Linked DNA regions of Homo sapiens: regions 2 and 3 are each linked to region 1. The links are contacts of gene promoters, found by promoter capture Hi-C in human tissues and cell types (Jung and others, 2019). All regions are on one chromosome and are shown on one strand. Each heading gives the region's core, a stretch centred on a gene start or on the middle of the fragment in contact. The rest is flanking DNA. Distances are from core to core; before and after follow the strand shown.

Evidence for each region. Contacts are between HindIII fragments. The study calls those that stand out against the background at their distance.
Region 2: a fragment that was not itself captured here is called in contact with the fragment with the promoter of UNC80 in region 1 in 1 of the 25 tissues and cell types used here (lymphoblastoid cells).
Region 3: a contact is called between a fragment that was not itself captured here and the fragment with the promoter of UNC80 in region 1, in 1 of the 25 tissues and cell types used here (mesendoderm cells).

Annotation. Positions count from the first base shown.
Region 1 is chr2:209,770,484-209,774,201 of GRCh38, forward strand. UNC80 (unc-80 subunit of NALCN channel complex) reads left to right here and starts at 1,349. Exons shown (of 65, transcript NM_001371986.1): 1 at 1,349-1,681; 2 at 2,611-2,659. The coding sequence starts at 1,590. RefSeq lists an enhancer at 2,908-3,409. The HindIII fragment of the contact is 3,928 bases long and covers 1-3,718 here.
Region 2 is chr2:208,459,849-208,463,267 of GRCh38, forward strand. PTH2R (parathyroid hormone 2 receptor) reads left to right here. Exons shown (of 13, transcript NM_005048.4): 9 at 47-113. Among named protein-coding and RNA genes, the nearest start is that of PTH2R, 55 kb to the left of the region's middle. The HindIII fragment of the contact is 5,593 bases long and covers 1-3,419 here.
Region 3 is chr2:208,397,903-208,401,831 of GRCh38, forward strand. LOC105373855 (a long non-coding RNA gene) reads right to left here. Exons shown (of 3, transcript XR_001739862.1): 2 at 3,575-3,917; 3 at 2,910-3,415. It also overlaps a transcript of PTH2R not described here. Among named protein-coding and RNA genes, the nearest start is that of PTH2R, 6.9 kb to the right of the region's middle. The HindIII fragment of the contact is 3,315 bases long and covers 1-3,039 here.

The DNA of each region.
Region 1 (3,718 bases), core at 99-2,598:
TGAAGAATTTATTTCTATGGCAAAAAATATTGATATATACTATGCTGTTAATTATATATGAAATATTACATCTGTTGAGATTAGGACCTGGAGTCTGATTCTTCATTTCATGGATTACACCAATATCTTTGCTCTAAAAGATGAGGCCAGGCATGGTGGCTCATGCCTGTAATCCCAGAACTTTGAGAAGCCAAGGTGAAAGGATTGCTTGAGCCCAGGAGTTTGAGACTAGCCTGGGAAACATAGTGTGACCCCCATCTCTACAAAAATAAAAAATTAGCTGGGAGTAGTGGTGCACACCTGTAGTCCCAACTGTTGGGGAGACTGAGCTGAGAGGATCTCTTGAGCCTGGGAGGTCAAGGCTGCAGTGAGTCGTGATCACACGTCTGCACTCCAGCCTGGTTGAAGAGCGAGATTCCGTCAAAGAACAAGAAAGAAGAAAGAAGGAGAAGGAGGAGAAGAGGAGGAGGAGGAGAAGGGGGAGGAGGAGGAGGAAGAAGGAGAAGGAGGAGGGGGAGGAGGAGGAATTGCAGGTAGTTACTATTCCGATTGCTTCACCCCACCTCACCCCCCTCCCCGGCCTACTTGTTTTACTCCTAGATAATATATCTAACAGCAATCCAACTATAAAATATTAATATATGTAACATATAAGCATTTGACTATTACAACTGAAGGAAAATGGTAGCTATCACTGGGGGCGAACAGGATCACCCAAGTGCATTTAATGGACTGTAATAAACCACATTTCCTCACAGCATGATTCAAATGTTCTTCCTCAATTTGCAATTAACTGATATCCACAACTGGTTACTTTGGGAACTTTGTATTCCTGCTTTAGGAAAACAAACAAGGTTTATTTCTTGTGGTTATCATATAAAAATAACTTCTCATATCTAAGATCTTTCAAGCTTCCTCTCACTTGCCAACCTTGCCTCACCTTCCTGGTTTACACTTCTAATAATTTTCATGTGTTCCTCCGGCTAACCCCTGGACTCCTGATCTCCTTGCTGGAGGTGAGAATGATGCCAGGGTTAGCGACTGCTCTGCGGTTCCCCAAAGCTCCTCCTACCCAGACGGCGACAGTTTGGATGCTGAGGTTGGAAAGCAGGACAGGGGACACTCCTGAGTGCAGCTCGGAGCGGGGAAAGCCGAATTCCGGGGGCTGAAGAGGCCGCGCAGGGGACGAGCGCCTGCGATGCGGAGCGTGGACTTCTTGGGCCGTACCCCTGCGGCTCAAGCTGCCCCGGATTCGCTTCTCCGGCCGTGCAGCCCGGCGCGGGCCGCTGTCCACAGTGGGAGGTGCTGAAAGCAGGGAGCGGGTGCGGGGGCGGCGAGGCGGACCGCTGCTCCGAGCGCCCCCCTCCTCGCTCCGCGGCTCCTCCAGCCCTCCCCTCCTCCCGCAGCCATGTTCCACGCGCGGGGAGGGGTGGGGGGAGGGGAGAGGCACGGGGGATCAGGGCGGAGAGAGCCGGCTCTGCCTCGGGGAAGGAGGGGATGAGAGTTGGGAGCAGCGGGAGGAGGCGGCGGCGGCGGCTAGCGAGGAGACAGAGCTGGGTCCTGCAGTAGGACTCCCGGGAGCCACCATTATGGTGAAGAGGAAGAGCTCCGAGGGCCAGGAGCAGGACGGCGGCCGCGGCATCCCCCTGCCCATCCAGACCTTCCTGTGGCGGCAAACCAGGTGAGGGGCGCAGAGGGCGCACCGCGGGCCGCCCTGGGCTGGGGGCGCTCCTGGGGCCGCCCGGGTCGCCGCTGCCGCCGCCGCCGCTGAGGCCGCGCCACAGCCTGCAGCTCCCTCTCTGGGGCTGGAAAACAAGCCCTCTGCACCAGCTTAAAAACACGCATTAAAATATGTATATATATGTATATATTTCAGTGAAGTTTGACGACAAGCAGATTGGCAGTTGTCGCATAAATGTATACATTATTTTAGGGGGTGGGAGGGCAGAGAGCCTGGGAAGAGGGGGCGGGGAGCTAGATAATTATGACTGGTTGTGCTCCTGCGTCCAATTCCCCCTCCATCTCCTGCTGTAATTCTAGCCCAGTGACCTGTTGTTTTTCCAGCTCCTGTTTGGCGAATATCTGCTATGCCCACTTGTTAACCGTTTTGCTCAGATTAATCTCCCCAGTTAAATCTCCTGAGGATTTGTGATAAGGGACCTTCCCCCACAACCCCGGAAAGGCCTGACACCTATTCCAATAAACAGAAAAGGTTTTCTTTATTATTGTTATTTTAGAGATTTATCAGATAAGATATTAGATTCTGGAAATTATGACCCATAAGCCGTGTTCAATTTTCAGTTTTTATTATGACTGTACACGTAAGTAATGCACCACTTCTGACCACTGGCGATTTAAAATCTTAGAAGTCTTCAGATTAAGAGTGGATACCGAAAACCATCGAGATCCACTTCTCTTTCATATATGCAATTACACGTGTAAAAGAAAATGTCATCAGCTGTTCAACACCTGCTCATTAAAAAGCTATAAGGAAGCATGAAATTTGAATTTCATAGCATCCTGTCTTATTCATTGAAAAATACGTCACAAGGATGCTTTAATAATAATTTTACTTATGTTTATTAACAAATATCTCTATTAATTTTTCAGTGCATTTTTGAGGCCCAAACTGGGGAAGCAATATGAAGCTTCTTGTGTGGTATGTGATTTTCACCATTTAATAATTATTTCCCTATTCTGTGTGGTGGTTTGAACCCAAAGACAGATTTTAAATCAAACGGACTATATATATTAATTCACTTGGCAAATATTATTGATCACCCACTCTGTGCCAGGCACAATTCTCTGTGCTGGAATAGAACAATGATAAAAACAAATACAGTGTTTACATCCTAGTAGAAAGGGGACAAGCCACAAACAAATAAGTAAATACATAGTAAGCCAGATGGTGGTAAGCACTATGGAGAAAAATTAAGCAAAAAGAAATACTAGGAAGCACTAGGGAGGGGAGTTTTATAAGAATGGATAGATAAGGCTTATCTACCCATTAATGTGAACCTTGGCCAAAGACACAAGGGGAAGGGAGGGAAGGACAGCTGAGGGAAGAGCAGAGGAAACATGTTAAAGGAAATTAGCACCTACTGGGGAATAAGTGAAAGGGTGGGGCGGGATCGAGTGGTAGAAGAGAAGGCAGAGAGATAACAGGGAACCAGGTGGTGTAGGGTGTTTTTGCCACCTGCAAGTGTGAAGTCGAATCCTTAATCAACAAAACTGAGACTTATAGTGGAAGTTCATATGATGGAGTGCCTGTGAAAGAACTACTTGAACAAAATATATGCATTTCTGCACTTTTATGTCTTGCATATGTTCTCCAATTCTAAAAATGAATAATATAAAATAATTGTGAAAATAATACTGTTAATATTTATACAAAATAAAATGCATTTGTCCTGAGATTCTAAGGGAATCTTATATCCCTACAAATTCTTGTTTCACAAATTGAGAAAATAAGACATGAAATCATGAAGCAAAATTGAAATGGACTTTTCACAGCCTTCATTAATATTTGGAGCTTACCTAAAAGTCTTTACATTGCATATATTATAACCTAAAAATGGAAATCTACCAATTTGGATATTGCCATGCATATTTACAAATAGCTATGTGGATGACCTTGTGGTAAGGAGCTCTGAGATGTGTTAGGGCAAAAAATTCTGATGGAAGCCAACTGGAAAGTTAAACACATACATGCCCACTC
Region 2 (3,419 bases), core at 805-3,304, 1.3 Mb before region 1:
TTTGCTTTGCCAATTTATTCATGACAGCTTTTTTTCAATGTCTCAGGTGCTGGGAACTTAGTGCTGGAGACATCAAGTGGATTTATCAAGCACCGATCTTAGCAGCTATTGGGGTAAGTTTAAAAGTTTGTATAGTTAAAAAAGGGATGAAAAATTAACCTGCTGCTAAAACCCAGAGAAAGTGTGTCTGTCACTGCATTCTACAACAGATCTGAGAAACTGACAAGTACAGCAACATCTATTGGGAGAGTCTGGGACAGAGATCAGACCCTTATTGTGACTGACACTGAGATCCATGCAGAAAGCCTTCCTTTAATCAGCTAGCACTTGGGGTCAATTCCGAGACTTCAAAATATCTATGAGCATTTATATGTTTAGGGAGTTGGAAGGCCCTATGTCTCCTTTTCATCCACGATATTATTTTACCACTTTAACATTCTGATCACCTGGTAGTAGGTCAGTGTGACAGGGAGGAAAAGGTGGAATAGCAGGAAAACAGAGAAATTACTGAGAGAGAAGAATGGTAATATGATGTATAAAGTATTCCCTAAATCTTTTATTTGGCATACTTTCCCCAAGGAGTTAAGTACATCTTATACCAAGAAGTATCCCACATAATTCTATCTAATAGGTATTAGATAGAATTGAAAGTAATGGCAAAAAACACAATTACTTTTTCACTAACCTAATAATAGGGAGAAAGACCACAATGCATGTTGCACTGGACCTTATCTGCCTATAATATTTCCAATGCACATTGCATCTGTGTTGCAAAGGAAAACAAAACCACACACTTCTTTGTATCTAATAAAACTTATCAAAATGTTTACTCTTGATCTTCTTTGAAGACTTTAAGGCATCAGCTTCTTTTGGGTTGTTGAAGAAATTACACCACCTTGTGTTTTCCTGGTGTTCATGTATGTAATACATATTACAAGCATTTTAAAAAAATAATTACTATCTTGATAATAAATGTTAAATTAGAAAACAATGTAGCAACTTGATTATTAACTAATTTTGATGTTTTTCTTTGTTTCCCAGTTTCATATTCTTCTTGTTTTCTTTTGGACAATGTGTCACCTACTTTGTCAGAAGGGCAGCTATTAATGTAGTTGAGGTATTGTAACCTCATCCAAAGAATCAGATAAAAGCTTATTTACCTCATAGGAAAAATGCATAAAGAAAATAGGAGAGATCAAAAGGAATCTTCAGTTTAGAAGCCCATTGAAATAAATGTTTAGAGACGGAAATAAAATACAGAACACGTTTAGAGAAGCTATTTTGTATCCTTGCTAAACCATCCTATTAACAAATTGGTCCCAATTCCATATATCCTAGGAGAAGCTCAAAAATCGATTATGGATGAATGCATGGCTTAAATGTATAAACACCTGTAATTTTAATTTTTAATGTAAATCAAATGCTGCTACATTAATTTAGTGAAAAAAATCCTAGATCTGTAACTATATCCCTGAGAGACATCAGTGAACTTAAAGATAAAAATTAACTGCTCAGATTTCCCTTTCACTCATTGGTATTTAATCCTTATTTATACTTTTAAGCCTTTTATTTTCCTCCTTTCTAGTTCCTCCTCTGTGTGTTTGCTTCTCCATATCTTACTATTATCTTTTTAAGGGAACAATCTTTATCTTGTTACTTTTTCTTTGCCTTCAGTGTCTTGTACTGAAACTGACCAATAAGAGTTAATTAATGCTCTTAATTTTACCCACATTTTAATATAATGATTATATAATGATTAAATATGATTTTACATTTGATGAAAAGGAAGGACCTATTGAAATGCAAGAGATCCTTGTAAAATTATCAGGAATTGAAGCAAAGGACAGTGGAGAAAAGGAAATCCTAGGGCATTTTCCATGGAAATGACTGATTTTTATCCAAAGCTTTATAGTTTGTTTACAGATCTAAGTCACTCACATCATCACCATGGATGAAAAATTTATTTTCTGAGATTTGTAACTTGTAATGTGAAACAGTAAAGCTAGGTGATTAAAGGGCTTTTGAAGATTCGCTGTTGGCGAAGGAGAAATAGAAGTGATGGCACACTCAATAAACTTTGAAGAAAATTAATGTAGAAGGCCATTTTCATCTTCTTGAGCTAAAATTATGACAGTTCTAAGCTAAGAATTCTGAAGTACTTTTCCTATATTATGAAGTTGATTTAATCTCAAAAATCACAGCTGAGACTCAAGAATATCTTTCTGTTCACTAAGAGTTACCTTTTTGTTTCATTATTATAATTTAGTGTTATCACAATTCCCTTGAAGGCTCTTAACTTACTCACAATCTACTAGTGTATCTGAAAGTTTTCATAAAATGTCAAGAATTGGATTTGAAATAAATAATTTACTTATTTTAATCAATAATTTAGAGAAGGCTGAGTTAAGAAGGAGAAAAACTAAAAAAGCAAGTGGAAAACTAAAGGAAAGAAAAAATAGAATTATAATGAAAAGCTCCAAGGTATAGTTTTCAATTCAGAAGAGGGGAATATCTCAAGAGACAAGAAGATACACCTCAAGAATATAGAGCTCCTAGGAGAGAGATTTGGCCCTCCTGGGAATAAGAATGTGGAAGGCCTGTGTGGATAATTGTGTGATGTGTAACACCAGGTAGTTAGATTGCCAGTGGCACCGGTTCAGAGGATCAACTTGAAGCACACACAGAAATCCTGGAAATCCAGGAGCTTGGATTATACACAGTGAACCCAAGTTGATATGTTTTAAAACCTGGATTCCAAGGACAGTGATTATTTCACTTAGAATGCCAAAGACCAGAGCTCTGTAAGCATGATTAACATTCAGGAAAAAAACTAATTTAATATCTGCATTGGAAGTAAATAATAAACACAAAATCATGAGCAAAGGTGGTAGTGATTAATGGGGGAAATTTATTCATCACAGGTTGGCAAGTGGTACGAGAGCATTCCAATGGTCTGTGCCAAGGTTGAGCGTGGGTGTGGAATAATGTCAAGAGCTGAGGCTGCAAAGGAGGCCGGGCCAGACCCTGAAGGGGCTTCTAAGCCTCACTAAAGAATTGACACCTAATCTTGCAAGGGATGACAACCAAAGGTTTAGACATTGGAAAGTGAAGGAATCAGGTTTTTCATTTGGAAAGATCTCAGGGCTTCGTTGAAGCTGGCAGTGGGTAACCACTGTGGGTGTCTGCTGGGTGGGGGTTTAAGCCACAGTGATATGAAGTGGAAAGGACATGGGGCTGAGAGAGTTAGGGCTTGGAATTCTGAGCACTGTCCCTTCACACTTGGCATACACATTTTCCTCATTTCCATGACCTGGTCCCTTCTTCCTCCCCCATCTCATGTCATCTCATCTTCTCCCTCCTGCTGCCTCAGCTCCACACAATGGCTTTCTTTAGTTTCCTGAACATGCTACACTGTTCCC
Region 3 (3,929 bases), core at 132-2,631, 1.4 Mb before region 1:
CTGCCAGGGTTTTTCTGCTAGGCAAGAAACATTTCTGGAGCTGATTTAAAAGAAAAATAAACTTCCCAAGGACCCCTTTTCTTCTTTATCTGCCTAAAATAATTTTTTAATAACTCCTGTAACAATGATTACTAGAAAGCAATTTATTCATGAAACTTAAAACTAAAATCAAATAATTGAAAATTAATTCATTGGGTCTTTGATATTAATATTCTTTAAGCCACAGAAGTCATAGAAAAGACTGAATTTGTCACCCTAGGCATTTCATTAAAAAAAGTTAGTTTCTTTTGTCTCAGAATGAAGTAGTCTTAAGTTCCAGAGCAGATATATCCTCATTATAATTAGTGAAATGGTGGTTTACTTAATTTTTAACATATAAATAGAGTCACATTTATCACTCCTTGGCATTTTCTTTAAGGATCTGATGCCAGAATGGCCGTGGAAGTCAAACATGTCTCATGCAAGAAATGGAATAAAAAGTTTCTATGAGTTTATGGTAATGGTTGGTTGGAAGTGTTACTTTTTGTAGCAGCTACTGTCAATGTTCCAATCATTTCTGATGATCTTGGTGATTTGGTGGATAATTAGACATGTGTCCTCAGACCAAGAAACTGCAAAGGCATAGAAGAAAGACAATCACGCTCTTGTGTTCAAAATGAAAAGCTTCTTTAGGGGCATTGTATTCTACTTAGATAATCATTTTAGAGCTTTATATGAGGTGTCTGGATGTGGTTTGGGGAATGTAATTAGATCAATTCCCTTAAAACTGTTTAAAGTGATTTCTCTCTTTCCATAAGTTATTGTATTACTAATTAATTTATTTACTATCTCGATTTTGTGCTGTTTGAATCTTAAGGCAGAAAAGAGTTGTCTGTATCTCTTGTGATAACACATATACTGGAATTATAAAATTAGACTCTCTTGAATTCTAGCTCTTAACCAGTCCCAAACTTGACTCAGAATTCAAAGGACCAGGCAAACACCAGGCACAAATAAAACAGTCTTTTCTTGGAGAAGTCTGAGACCATTTGGCACAGATTTCCAAAATAACCCTATTCTCATGCAGTAGGATAAGTTTTAGATTTAATAGACAAGCTTCTTTATAAGCAATATGTGCAGAGACATCGTTCAAACAAAGGGAATAATTCCAGTTATGCAATGTCTCTTCTTCATACCTTATTGTTTACATAATCATCTCTTAGTTTCCCCTATCACCCAGAAACCTGTGAATTCTAAGTTTATTTATACACACAATCAAGATGTGTGCTCCTAAAAACATTTTATACTCTCCATTATCTTTCCATTCCTAGTAAATACTTAGTGAGTTTACTGGAAAATTTGGTTATTCACATGTGTTCAGGGAAGGGTTAACTCAGTAGGTCTGGGTTGCTCAAACCCTGCACATTCCCAAGAAAGGCCAGTCCTCAGGACTGGCCCTTGGCTGGTTTCTGGGAGATGAGCTCTAAGTCCTCGGCATAATCTGCTGGATAAGAGTGGTTTGTATATCTGCAGCCTTGGGCTATGCTGTACCAGTTTGACCAGGTAGTTTATGCTAACAATGTCATCTGTGAATGCCTATTTTTGCTTGTGGCAGGGTTATGGTGGGGCTGGGTTCCAAGTAGGTGATTAAAAACCCTAGACACCAGGACTCAGATAAGCTTCCCTAGTTGGCAACACTTTGCACAAGGTGTCATACATCATTGCTGGGAGAATTAAGTGCATCTGTGTGACTCCACTGGGAGAAGACCCCTGGAAGCTTGTTCCTGGTTCTGCCTGAACATCATCTTATGTGACTTTTCCCTATGTTGAATTTAATCTGTATCCTTTCACTCTGAGGAATCATAACCATGAGACAACATCTTCTGAGTCCTATGAGTCCTTCTAGCAAATCATTAAGCATGATGGTGGTGGTTTTGAGGACTCCCAACATAGCATGTTTACCAAGAGATTTATTTGAGGTTTTTCTTTCCTTTCTGATAGAGAAAAGTTCATACCTGCTGTTCACCTTTTCCTTCCCAGCATGTAGTGTGGAGCTATGAACCTCTATGCTGATGTCCTTTCAGCCCTTTTTACTGATACTCACCCTGTCTCTGGGGCCTTACCCCTTCATTAATAACCCTATGGAAAGTAAAACTGTATTTCAATAGGTCTCCAGTTATAGCACCTGGAAAATTAAACTCTTCTTAAAACCCAAGTTAGTTCTTTCAGCGATTTGACCTATTTTGTTTTTCAGAAAACACTTCTGTTTATACCTTACTAAAATATTATATTGTAGTGGTTATATGTCCAGAGGCTAGTAGAGTACTTGTTTATTGAAAACAAAATAAAATATGAATTCTAAATAGTAATGTCTAAATTCTTCAAAATGTAAGTGGTAGAATTGACTTTGATAGACCTTTTCTCCTGTAATATATTGTTATAATATCCTGAGACATACTCAGCATAAATATCTTCCCAGTCATTAAGTTAGTCACCAGCACCTCTCTTTGGGGACTGCCTAAAATGAAAGGATATGTCCTTCGGTGGAGTATTCTTATATTTCCAGGGGTAGCAAGAGCTATTTGAATTTCTCATTAGAATGTCTTTTTCAGATGTCTAGTTTAACCTGGTATCCTAGTAAAAATAGCAACATCCGGATCACTAAGGGATGGTTCAGAGTAGATTATATTAGTGGTTATTTTGGTATTAGGTTTGTGGTACTATCTATAACCTTTTATAAAGATCTCATTGATTTATTTTAATGTGGGTAAAATCATTTTAGACATGGATGAATCAGACAATAACTTAATTTTATCTAAATATTTTGCAAGTTAGGTCAGCAAGAGTTCACTATATAATTGCTAAAATAGTCTCTTTAATTTCCAAAGCATATGTATATTTTATTGGAAATGTGATTTATGTGCATTATATTCAACTAATAAACATTATATTTGATGTCTCAGTAAGTATTTAACCAGATGTATATGTATCTCTTGAACTTTTATTGCACAAACATAAAAGCTCTGTTTGTGGAGAGAATAAAAGCAAATTTCATAGTAGACCTCAATATACATTTCACAAGTACTGACCTCATAGTTCTAGAATAGAAACCAACTGGGTATGATACATGAGAGTTAGTAGACATAGCTTATGATCATTATGTGAATACATTGGTTGTATTCCAGATATCAGAAGGAGGTATACAATAGGATTATGCCATGCTCAGAAATATTGGATGTCTGTGTATGAATCCTATGAAGAAATCATTCATATTCCCATAAACATTGAGTTTCTTCGCAGTCTCTTCTTCCATCTGTATGGGAACTATTCCCAAATCTGTTTTCAGCACTTACCTGAGCCCCACTCTCCAATTTCACATTCTTTTCAAAAGTCTCCAAATTCTCCCCTACCTGCCACCTGTATGTTCCAATGTTACCTGAAATGGAACATGAGGAGAGTTAGGATTAGCATCTGTCCCCTGTAAAAACAGTGGCCTTTCCTTCTGCCTTCCCACTACTATCAACACTAGTCTTGTTCTTTTGTCCTCCAAGACTTGCAAAAAGGTTTTTTTTTTTTGCCCCGTCATTCCTTTTACCTTCCAAACCGCTCAGTGATCAGGTCCTGTTAATATTTTCTTTATGGTATCTCTCCTTCTTATTCCTTCCTGTGTATTTTTTTTAAACTTAATCCTTTTCCTCCTCAGGGTTTGCAGCCACCCTTCTTCCTCTGCAGCACACCTGCTGTTTTAGAATCCCTCCTGTTCTGCCCGTCTCCTGCTTTGCACATGTTCTTCTCTGCTTCGAATGCCCTCTTCAGCATCCTCCATTGGGTCACACACAGCCCTTCTTCACGCTCAGTTCTGATGACTCCTCTGGAAATCCTCTCTCACCACACAGGGCTTAGAGGACTTCTGCTGTCTTCAAGGCTCTGGGAGTGCACTGGGAACAGGA